2 separate regions of the Homo sapiens genome follow, and region 1 is linked to region 2. The links are contacts of gene promoters, found by promoter capture Hi-C in blood cells and fetal thymus (Javierre and others, 2016). All regions are on one chromosome and are shown on one strand. The core of a region is centred on a gene start or on the middle of the fragment in contact, and the rest is flanking DNA. Distances in the headings are between cores, read along the strand shown.

Region 1 (4,584 bases), core at 2,058-4,557, 360 kb before region 2:
CCTTTTTTCCATACTCTCACCAACTCTTATTATCTTTCATCTTTTTGATAATACTTATCCTAACAGGTGTGAGGTAATGTCTCACTGTGATTTTAATTTGCATTTCCTTGACAATTAATATTATTATATTAATAATATTGAGCATTTTTCACGTTCCTATTCACCGTTTATATGCCTTTTTTCCCATAAGTTATTGGGGTACAGGTGGTATTTGGTTACATGAGTAAATTCTTTAGTGGTAATTTGTGAGACTTTGGTGCACCCATCATCTGAGCAGTATACACTGCAACATATTTATAGCCTTTATCCCTATCCCCCTCCCACTCTTTCCTCCAAGTCCCCGAAGTCCATTGTATCATTCTTATGCCTTTGCATCCTCATAGCTTAGCTCCCACATATCACAGAGAACATACGGTGTTTGGTTTTCCATTCCTGACTTACTTTACTTAGAATAGTAGTCTCCAGTCTCAACCAGGTCACTGCAAATGCTGTTAATTCATTTCTTTTTATGGCTGAGTAGTATTCCATTTTATGTATATATATATACATACCACAGTTTCTTTATCCACTTGTTGATGGGCATTTGGGTTGGTTCCACGATTTTGCAATTGTGAATCATGCTGCTATAAACGTGCTTGTGCCAGTTTCTTTTTCAAATAATGACTTCTTTTCATGTGGGTAGATACCCAGTAGTGTGGATTGCTGGATCAAATGGTAGTTCTACTTTTAGTTCTTTAAGGAATCTCCACACTGTTTTCCATAGCAGCTGTACTACTTTACATTTCCACCAGCAGTGTAGAAATGTTCCCTGATCACCACATCCATGCCAACATCTAATGTTTTTTGATTTTTTGATTACCGTCATTCTTGCAGGAGTAAGGTGGTATTGCATTATAGTTTTGATTTGCATTTCCCTAATCATTAGTGATGTTAAACATTTTTTCATATGTTTGTTGGCCATTTGTATATCTTCTTTTGAGAATTGTCTACTCATGTCTTGGCCCACTTTTTGATAAGATTGTTTTTTTCTTACTGATTTGTTTGAATTTGTTGTAGATTCTGCATATTAGTTCTTTGTCAGATGTATAGATTGTGAAGATTTTCTCCCACTCTGTGGGTTGTCTGTTTACTCTGCTGACTGTTCCTTTTGCCGTACAAAAGCTCTTTAGTTTAATTAAGTCCCAGCTATTTATCTTTGTTTTTATTGCATTTGCTTTTGGGTTCTTGGTCATGAAATTTTTGCCTAAGCCAACGTCTAGAAGGGTTTTTCCAATGTTATCTTCTAGAATTTTTATAGTTTCAGGTCTTAGATTTAAGTCCTTAATCCATCTTGTGTTGATTTTTGTATAAGGTAAGAGATGAGGATCCAGTTTCATTCTCCTGCATGTGGCTAGCCAATTATCCCAGCACCATTTGTTGAAAAGGGTGTCCTTTCCCCACTTTATGTTTTTGTTTGCTTTGTCAAAGATCAGTTGGCTGTAAGCATTTGGGTTTATTTCTGGATTCTCTATTCTGTTCCATTGGTCTATGTGCCTATTTTTATACCAGTACCATGCTGTTTTGGTGACTATGGCCTTATAGTACAGCTTGAAATCAGATAATGTGATGCCTCCAGATTTGTTCTTTTTGCTTAGCCTTGCTTTGGCTATGTGGGCTCTTTTTTGGTTCCATATGAATTTTAGAATTTTTTTTTCTAATTCTATGAAGAATGTTGGTGGTATTTTTATGGGGATTGCGTTGAATTTGTAGATTGCTTTTGGCAGTATGGTCATTTCACAATGTTGATTCTACCCATCCATGAGCATGGGATATGTTTCCTTTTGTTTGTGTCATCTATGATTTATTTCAGCAGTGTTTTGCAGTTTTTCTTGCAGAGGTCTTTTGACTACTTGGTTAGGTATATTCCTAAGTTGTTGTTGGTTTGTTTTTCTCTTTCCTTTTTTTTTTTTGTTTTTTTTTTTTTTTGCAGCCATTGTAAAAGGGGTTGAGTTCTCGATTTGATTCTCCCCTTGGTCGCTGTTGGTATATAGAAGAGCTACTGATTTGTGTACATTAATCTTGTATCTGGAAACTTTGCTGAATTCTTTTATCAGCTCTAGGAGCTTTCTGGAGGAGTCTTTAGGGTCTTCAAGGTAAACGATCACATCGTCAGCAAACAGTGACCGTTTGACTTCTTTACAGATTTGGATGCCCTTTATTTCTTTCTCCTGCCTGATTTCTCTGGCTAGGACTTCCAGTACTATGTTGAAGAGGAGTGGTGAGAGTGGGCATCCTTGTCTTGTTCCAGTTCTCAGAGGGACTGCTTTTTGTATGTATTTTTTGGAAAAAGTTTTATTCAGGTCTTTTGCCCATTTGTAATTGGATTATCTGCTTTTTTTTTTTTTTGCCATTGAATCATGAGTTTCTTATACATTTTGGATATTAACCCCTTATCTGATTTATGTTTTACAAATATTTTATCCCATTCCATAGGTTGTCTTTCTAATTTTATTAATTGTTCTCTTTGCTGTGCAGAAGCTTGTTAGTTTGATGTAGTCCCACTTGTTTAATTTTGCTTTTGTTGCCTGTGCTTTTTACGTCATATCCAAAAAATCTTCACCGAAACTAATGTAAATAAGCTCTTTCCCTATGTTTTCTTCTAGGTGTTTTACAGTTTCACTTCTTTACATTTGTCTTTAACCCATTTCAAATCAACTTTTGTATATGGTAAAAGATAAGGGTCCCATTTCATTTATTTGCTTATGGACATTCAGTTTTCCCAACATCATTTATTGAAGAGACTGTCCTTTGCCCATTGTGAATTCTTGTCTCCCTTATCAAAGATTACTTGACCATATATTAATAGATTTATTTCTGGGCTTTTTATTTCATTCAATTTGTCTATGAGTCTGTTTTTATAGCAGTCCCTACAATTTTAATTACTTTTGTATTATAGCTTGAAATCATAACTGTAAGACCTCCATGTTCTTTCTTAAGATTGTTTTGGCTATTGGAGGTCTAGTTCTCCAGTTTCTTGGAAAAAAAGAATGATACATTCTTAGTGGAATCCCTTTAATTACCACTTTTAAAGGCTAAATTCTCATTCCATAGTGTAAGTTTAGTCATTCTTTAATAAGGCCTGACTTAAGTTGCCCTGCTGGCATTTTTTTGTTTTTTTTTTTTTTGTTTGTTTGTTTTTTTTGAGACAGAGTCTCTCTCTGTCACCCAGGCTGGAGTGCAGTGGGGCCATCTCGGCTCACTGCAAGCTCTGCCTCCCGGGTTCACGCCATTCTCCTGCCTCGGTCTCCCGAGTAGCTGGGACTACAGGCGCCCGCTACCACGCCCGGCTAATTTTTTTCTATTTTTAGTAGAGACGGGGTTTCACCGTATTAGCCAGGATGGTCTCGATCTCCTGACCTCGTGGTCCCCCCGCCTCGGCCTCCCAAAGTGCTGGGATTACAGGCGTGAGCCACCACGCCCGGCGCTGCTGGCATTTTTATAGGTAGACTCCACACTGTGTAGATGGGACTTAATAGTTATAGTGGTGTACAGAAGTGCATCTGGTAAAGAGCACACCTTACAAAGTGCTGTCTGGAAATGCAAATTGTATAAGCATAGTGGTTGACTGTAAAAGACCTCCACTTAGGCAAACATACTATTGTAGATTTAAATTACAGTTTGGTCTCAACACTTCTATGAACTCTTGAGCATGTTTTCCAGTCTGATTTGGTTCCTTTAGTCTCTGTAAAAGGAAGAAGTGCACATGCTATTATGAGTCTCACTGCTCTGTAATCATTAATTCTTCTTTTTTTTTTTTTTTTTAACATGGTACTTAGGCACATAAAGTTAACAGCCTATTGGATGCATACTCAGGCCTGTTAAGTAATGAATCCATGATCCTGGCTGTGAACTCCAGGTATGATAAGCTATCATGCTCTTTTATTTCACTAATTGGATGCATTTAAAATGTTATATCTTTAAAAACATGCAATTGTGAAAGATAAGAAATTACTCCAAACTTCACCATCATAATTTGGTGACTACTATTTCTTTCTTATACTCTTTCCCAGTCTTTTTGTATTGCGTAGACAAGCAGATAATCTTTCTAGCTGCTGAGGCAAGCTTCATTTGCCATCAGTTTGAAGATGCATCTCAATGTAAGAAATACTAAGATGTGAAAAACATATTATCATTGATTACAGAAAATGGGTCAGTAATATATCTCAACTGTTTAAAGCTTAGCATGGCTTTGTGGACTTGGCTGGGAATGTAACCACTCTTTGCATTATTATGTTTATGGAGAAATATATTCTGATTTCTACATAACTGTTTATAGATAATATTTGCAAAGAAATTAATTCCTTTATTTTTACAACATTATTATCATTTTTAAGAGAATATTTAAGACTCATCTGTCATACAAAGCCAAAAGCTGAACCTCATTTTTGCTTATCACTAAGAAATGGCTGGGCCAGGCACGGTGGCTCACACCTCTAATCCCAGCACTTTGGGAGGCTGAGGCGGGCGGATCATGAGGTCAGGAGATCGAGACCATCCTAGCTAACATGGTGAAACCCCGTCTCTACTGAAAATACAAAAAATTAG
Region 2 (4,492 bases), core at 1,101-3,600:
TTACTCTACAATCCCAAATAGACTCTTTGGCAGCAGTGACTCTCTAAAACCACTGAGGCCTAACCTCCTCACTGCTGAGAAAGGAGGACTTTGCACCTTCTTAGGGGACGAGTGTTGCTTTTACACTAACCAGTCAGGGTTAATATGAGACGCCACCCGGCATTTACAGGAAAAGTCTTCTGAAATCAGACAATGCCTTTCAAATTCTTATACCATTCTCTGGAGTTGGGCAACATGGCTTCTCCCCTTTCTAGGTCTCATGACAACCATCTTGCTATTACTTGCCTTCGGGCCCTGTATTTTTAAGCTCTTTGTCAATTTGTTTCCTCCAGGATCGAGGCCATCAAGCTACAGATGGTTTTGCAAATTAAACCCCAAATGAGCTCAACTAACAACTTCTACCAAGGACCCCCTGGATCGACCCACTGGCCCTTTGATACCTAGAGAGTTTCCCTCTGGAGGATACTACAATTCAGGGTCTCTTCTTCACCCCTATCCAGCAGGAAGTAGCTAGAGCAGTCATTGCGCAATTCTCAAAAGCAGTTGGGGTGTCCTGTTTAAAGGGGGTATTGAGAGGTGAAGCCAGCTGGACTTCCTGGGTCGAGTAGAGACTTGGAGAACTTTTCTGTCTTACAAGAGGATTGTAAAATGCACCAATCAGTGCTCTGTAGCTAGCAAGAAGTTTGTAAAATGCACCAATCAGTTCTCTGTAAAATGGACCAATCAGTGCTCTGTAAAATGGACCAATCAGCGCTCTGTAAAATGGATCAATCAGCAGGATTCTAAAAGTAACCAATCGTGGGGAGAATTGAGAAAAGGGCATTCTGATAAGACAGAAACAGGACATGGGAGGGGACAAATAAGAGAAAGCTGGCCACCCCAGCCAGCGGCAGCAACTGGCTCGGGTCCCCTTCCACTCTGTGGAAGCTTTGTTCTTTCGCTCTTCACAATAAATCTTGCTGCTGCTCACTCTTTGGGTCTGTGCCATCTTTTAAGAACTGTAACACTCACCACAAAGGTCCGCAGCTCCATTCTTGAAGTCAGGGAGACCAGGAACCCACCGGAAGGAACTAACTCTGGACACAATATTTTTTTTTCTTTTTTTAAATTTTTTTCTTTATTTCTTCTAAAAAAAAGTGGGATGCATGTGCAGAACGTGCAGGTTTGTTGCATAGGTACACGTGTGCCATGGTGATTTGCTGCACCTATTGACCTGTTCTCCTCTAAGTTCCCTCTCCTCACCCCCTACCCTACAACAGGCCCTACAACATTCCCCTCTCTGTGTCCATGTGTTCTCATTGTTCAACTCCCACTTATGAGTGAGAACATGCAGTGTTTGGTTTTCTGTTCCTGTGTTAGTTTGCTGAGGATGATGGCTTCCAGCTTCATCCATGTCCCTGCAAAGGACATGATCTTATTTCTTTTTATGGCTGCATAATATTCCATGATATTTTTCAAAAGAAAATATTTGCTGCCAACAGAAGATTTTATATTAAAATCTGTATTTGCAGCTTTTACTGAAAAGAACCTAAGGCCTTGCCATATTGGGCTCATTTTCTCAAATAGCAACATTTAGCTGAACTGAATAGACAGAGAAAGTACTTTCCAGTCAGATCATATCTGGCCCACTTTCCTCGTGTATGTTACCCTCCTCACTCCTGTAGGCATTTGCATGTGTAGTCACAAGCAAATGTGGTTTAGAAATTGTTCAGTGAACCATGTTGGAAAATGTCCCTAAACACAAGTCCTAAAGATGGTCTGTTATATTATCTTACAAGCACACAGTGGAAGGAAAAACAGTTAAGTTTTCTATTTCTGCCACAGCTTCTATAATTATTACCTTTCTTGTGCCCTAGGTTAATATCTAAAAATAGCTTTATGCTTTCTCAAACACATTTCACCAGCTCCCTCTGCTGATCCAATCTGAAGGACAAAACAGCTTAAATTCCTTGTAAGTCCTGAACTTTAAAATCACATTTCTGGGGTTGGAGAACTCCAAGCATGAAAGAACTTGATGAGGTAATGGTCATCTAAATAACTTTCTCCTTTGGACAGCTCCTATGGTAATCCAAGCAAGAGTCAGGGTGTAGAAGTTTGTTTCCAAAAGTAGAACTCCTGTTTCGCTGAGAAAGCTGTAATTTGGGGTGATTTGGCGCCCTCTACAGACTATAATGGCAAAAGCGACGCTATCATGTGCTTCCCATAGCTTTAGGGCTTTGCCAGAACTATGACGTTGAGGAGGGTGGGGTAAAGGGGCAGGAAGCGTTTATGTTCTGCCAATCCAACAGCTGTATTCTAACTCACCATTCCGCCCTCCCTTAAGATCACGGAAGTATCACGCTTGCCTCTTACACAACTTTTTTTCCTTAGTCTGTATACTTTCTGCTGTCACTAGCATAACAGAAAAGACGAATGGCTTTTGTTTTAAACTGAGGGCACTTTTACAAAAGTCATCTTTCCATTTATTTTTCTTTCAGAAAAAAGAATTTGGGTTTTGAGCTTTTTTAAAAAAAAAAGACAAACACTTTCCTTGACTTTGAGAAATAATTTAAGTCAAAGAATCTGCTCTATGCTAACCAAGGTAAGTGTCCTGGATTTTTTTTTTAATGGGGAAATGATCCAGAAACTGCTTTCACAAAAGATGAATGTTTTTCTTGGAGTGTGTTCCTTAAGAATGAATGTGATTATCTTCTTTTGGGGTCTCTTGACTAGGGCTAAAGCAAGAGAATTAAGGAGAGAGTCAGGAAGCAAAGGGAAGTTGTAAGGAAACAAAGTTATGTTGTGGACAGAACCATCCAAAAGGAAAGTGTCAGTGAGATAAACAGAATCATGAGACTTTCAGTGACTCCAGTGACCTCTGATTTCATCTTATGAATGAGATGGAAATGCCAGCCATTGGGAAACAAATACCCCATAGATGGCGTGGGAAAAAAATACTGTAACAAAGCAAGAGCATGGTAGGATGATGATAAGAAACATAAAATGATCAAATTTCAAATTCAAAGAAATCATAATTGATTACATGATTTGCAAATCACCCAAGTCTCTCCATGTCTCATAAAGGATTCCTACATTTGCTGGTCAGTCAGGTATAGGGTGGGGTTTTCCCGTTGTACAAAGGTCTAGTTCAATAGGTCAGGTCTCCTTTCTGCCAAGGGACTAAATATAAGCAACCTATGGCTGGCACGGTGGCTCACGCCTGTAATCCCAGCACTTTGGAAAGCCGAGGAGGGCAGACCACTTGAGATCAGGAGTTTGAGACCAGCCTGACCAACATGGTGAAACCCCGTCTCTACTAAAAATACAAAAATTATCCAGGCGTGGTGCCGCCTGCCTGTAGTCTCAGCTACTCAGGAGGCTGAGGCAGGAGAATCACTTGAACCCAGGAGGTGGAGGTTGCAGTGAGCCGAAATTGTGCCACTGCATTCCAGCCTGGAAGACAGAGTGAGACTCCAACTCAAATAAATAAATAAATAAATATAAGCACCTTTGAGCAACCAAGTACCTTATGAAGTCCACTTTATAGTTTGCAGAGTTTGCACACACGTTCTCCCAATCCTTCAAGCCTGCAGTATTCTCGCCTACCTTTGAATTCATATCTTTTTTTTTTTGTGCACCAATTACTTGGTTTTCAGACATAAGAACAGTCCTTTCAAGCTTGAAGGAAACAAAGAGAAAGCCACTTGAACCCTCTGTTTTACAAATGTGGAAGCACTGGCTCAGAGAAATTGAGAATTGTGTCCAGGGTTACAAGCTGCTTAGAGGCAGAAGCAGAACTAGAACTCAGATCTCTCAATTTCCAGTTCACTCACTACCTTCCTCTACTGACTCAAGGCAAAATTTAAAAAGGTTGCTCCCATTCAGAAATTTATAGTCTGTAAATACGGATTAATTTTAAAAGGTGCTAATTCCCAATTTGTTTCTACTGCCTGTAGAGTCTCTAAGTCAGTCCTTAAAGTGCTTTTGCCCAGCACGTTTTTAACCCCACAGGCCACTCTGTGTCACTAACTAGGTCTCTAGACAGGGATAATAAACAGGCCAGGAGAGTGCAAGCATTCATGCCTAGAGCATGCTGCTACCATAGGACTTAGCACAAGGTAGTATCAGCCTCTCCATATACAACATCTTAAGAGCAGTCACGGTCTTTTTTAAATTCTAAGACTTTACTACTATTTCTTAGTTGCAGGGTCTTCATTATCTTCAGGGCCCCATACTTAGCTTAGGACCTGCACTTAGAGGTACCCAGGGCATATTTGTTGAATGAATTAATTTGCTTCCAGTCTATTCACGTCAGTATATTTTTCACTTTGGCAATTCAGTTAGCAGTCATTTCTTTTTACCTTATGATTGCAGAGATAGAGCACAGCAAAGATCTGCCAGCCCCAGGCCTCTACCTAGTGGCCTGGAAATTCAAGTATTCTTATTGGTGGAGGCCATTTGTTTCTGATTAGAAGCTGTCTAAACCTCCTACTCCTCAACTCAAAGGAAAACA

The links. The method cuts DNA at HindIII sites, captures the fragments that hold promoters and counts their contacts. A CHiCAGO score of 5 or more calls a contact.
Region 1: a fragment that was not itself captured here is called in contact with the fragment with the promoter of FMO4 in region 2 in 3 of 17 cell types (naive B cells, non-activated CD4 T cells and total B cells); the score reaches 5.9 in naive B cells.

What each region holds. Positions count from the first base shown.
Region 1 is chr1:170,954,646-170,959,229 of GRCh38, forward strand. It overlaps MROH9 (maestro heat like repeat family member 9), which reads left to right. Exons shown (of 22, transcript NM_001163629.2): 4 at 3,816-3,895. Among named protein-coding and RNA genes, the nearest start is that of MROH9, 21 kb to the left of the region's middle. The HindIII fragment of the contact is 1,584 bases long and covers 2,516-4,099 here.
Region 2 is chr1:171,311,833-171,316,324 of GRCh38, forward strand. FMO4 (flavin containing dimethylaniline monoxygenase 4) reads left to right here and starts at 2,351. Exons shown (of 10, transcript NM_002022.3): 1 at 2,351-2,581; 2 at 4,354-4,492. The HindIII fragment of the contact is 2,730 bases long and covers 926-3,655 here.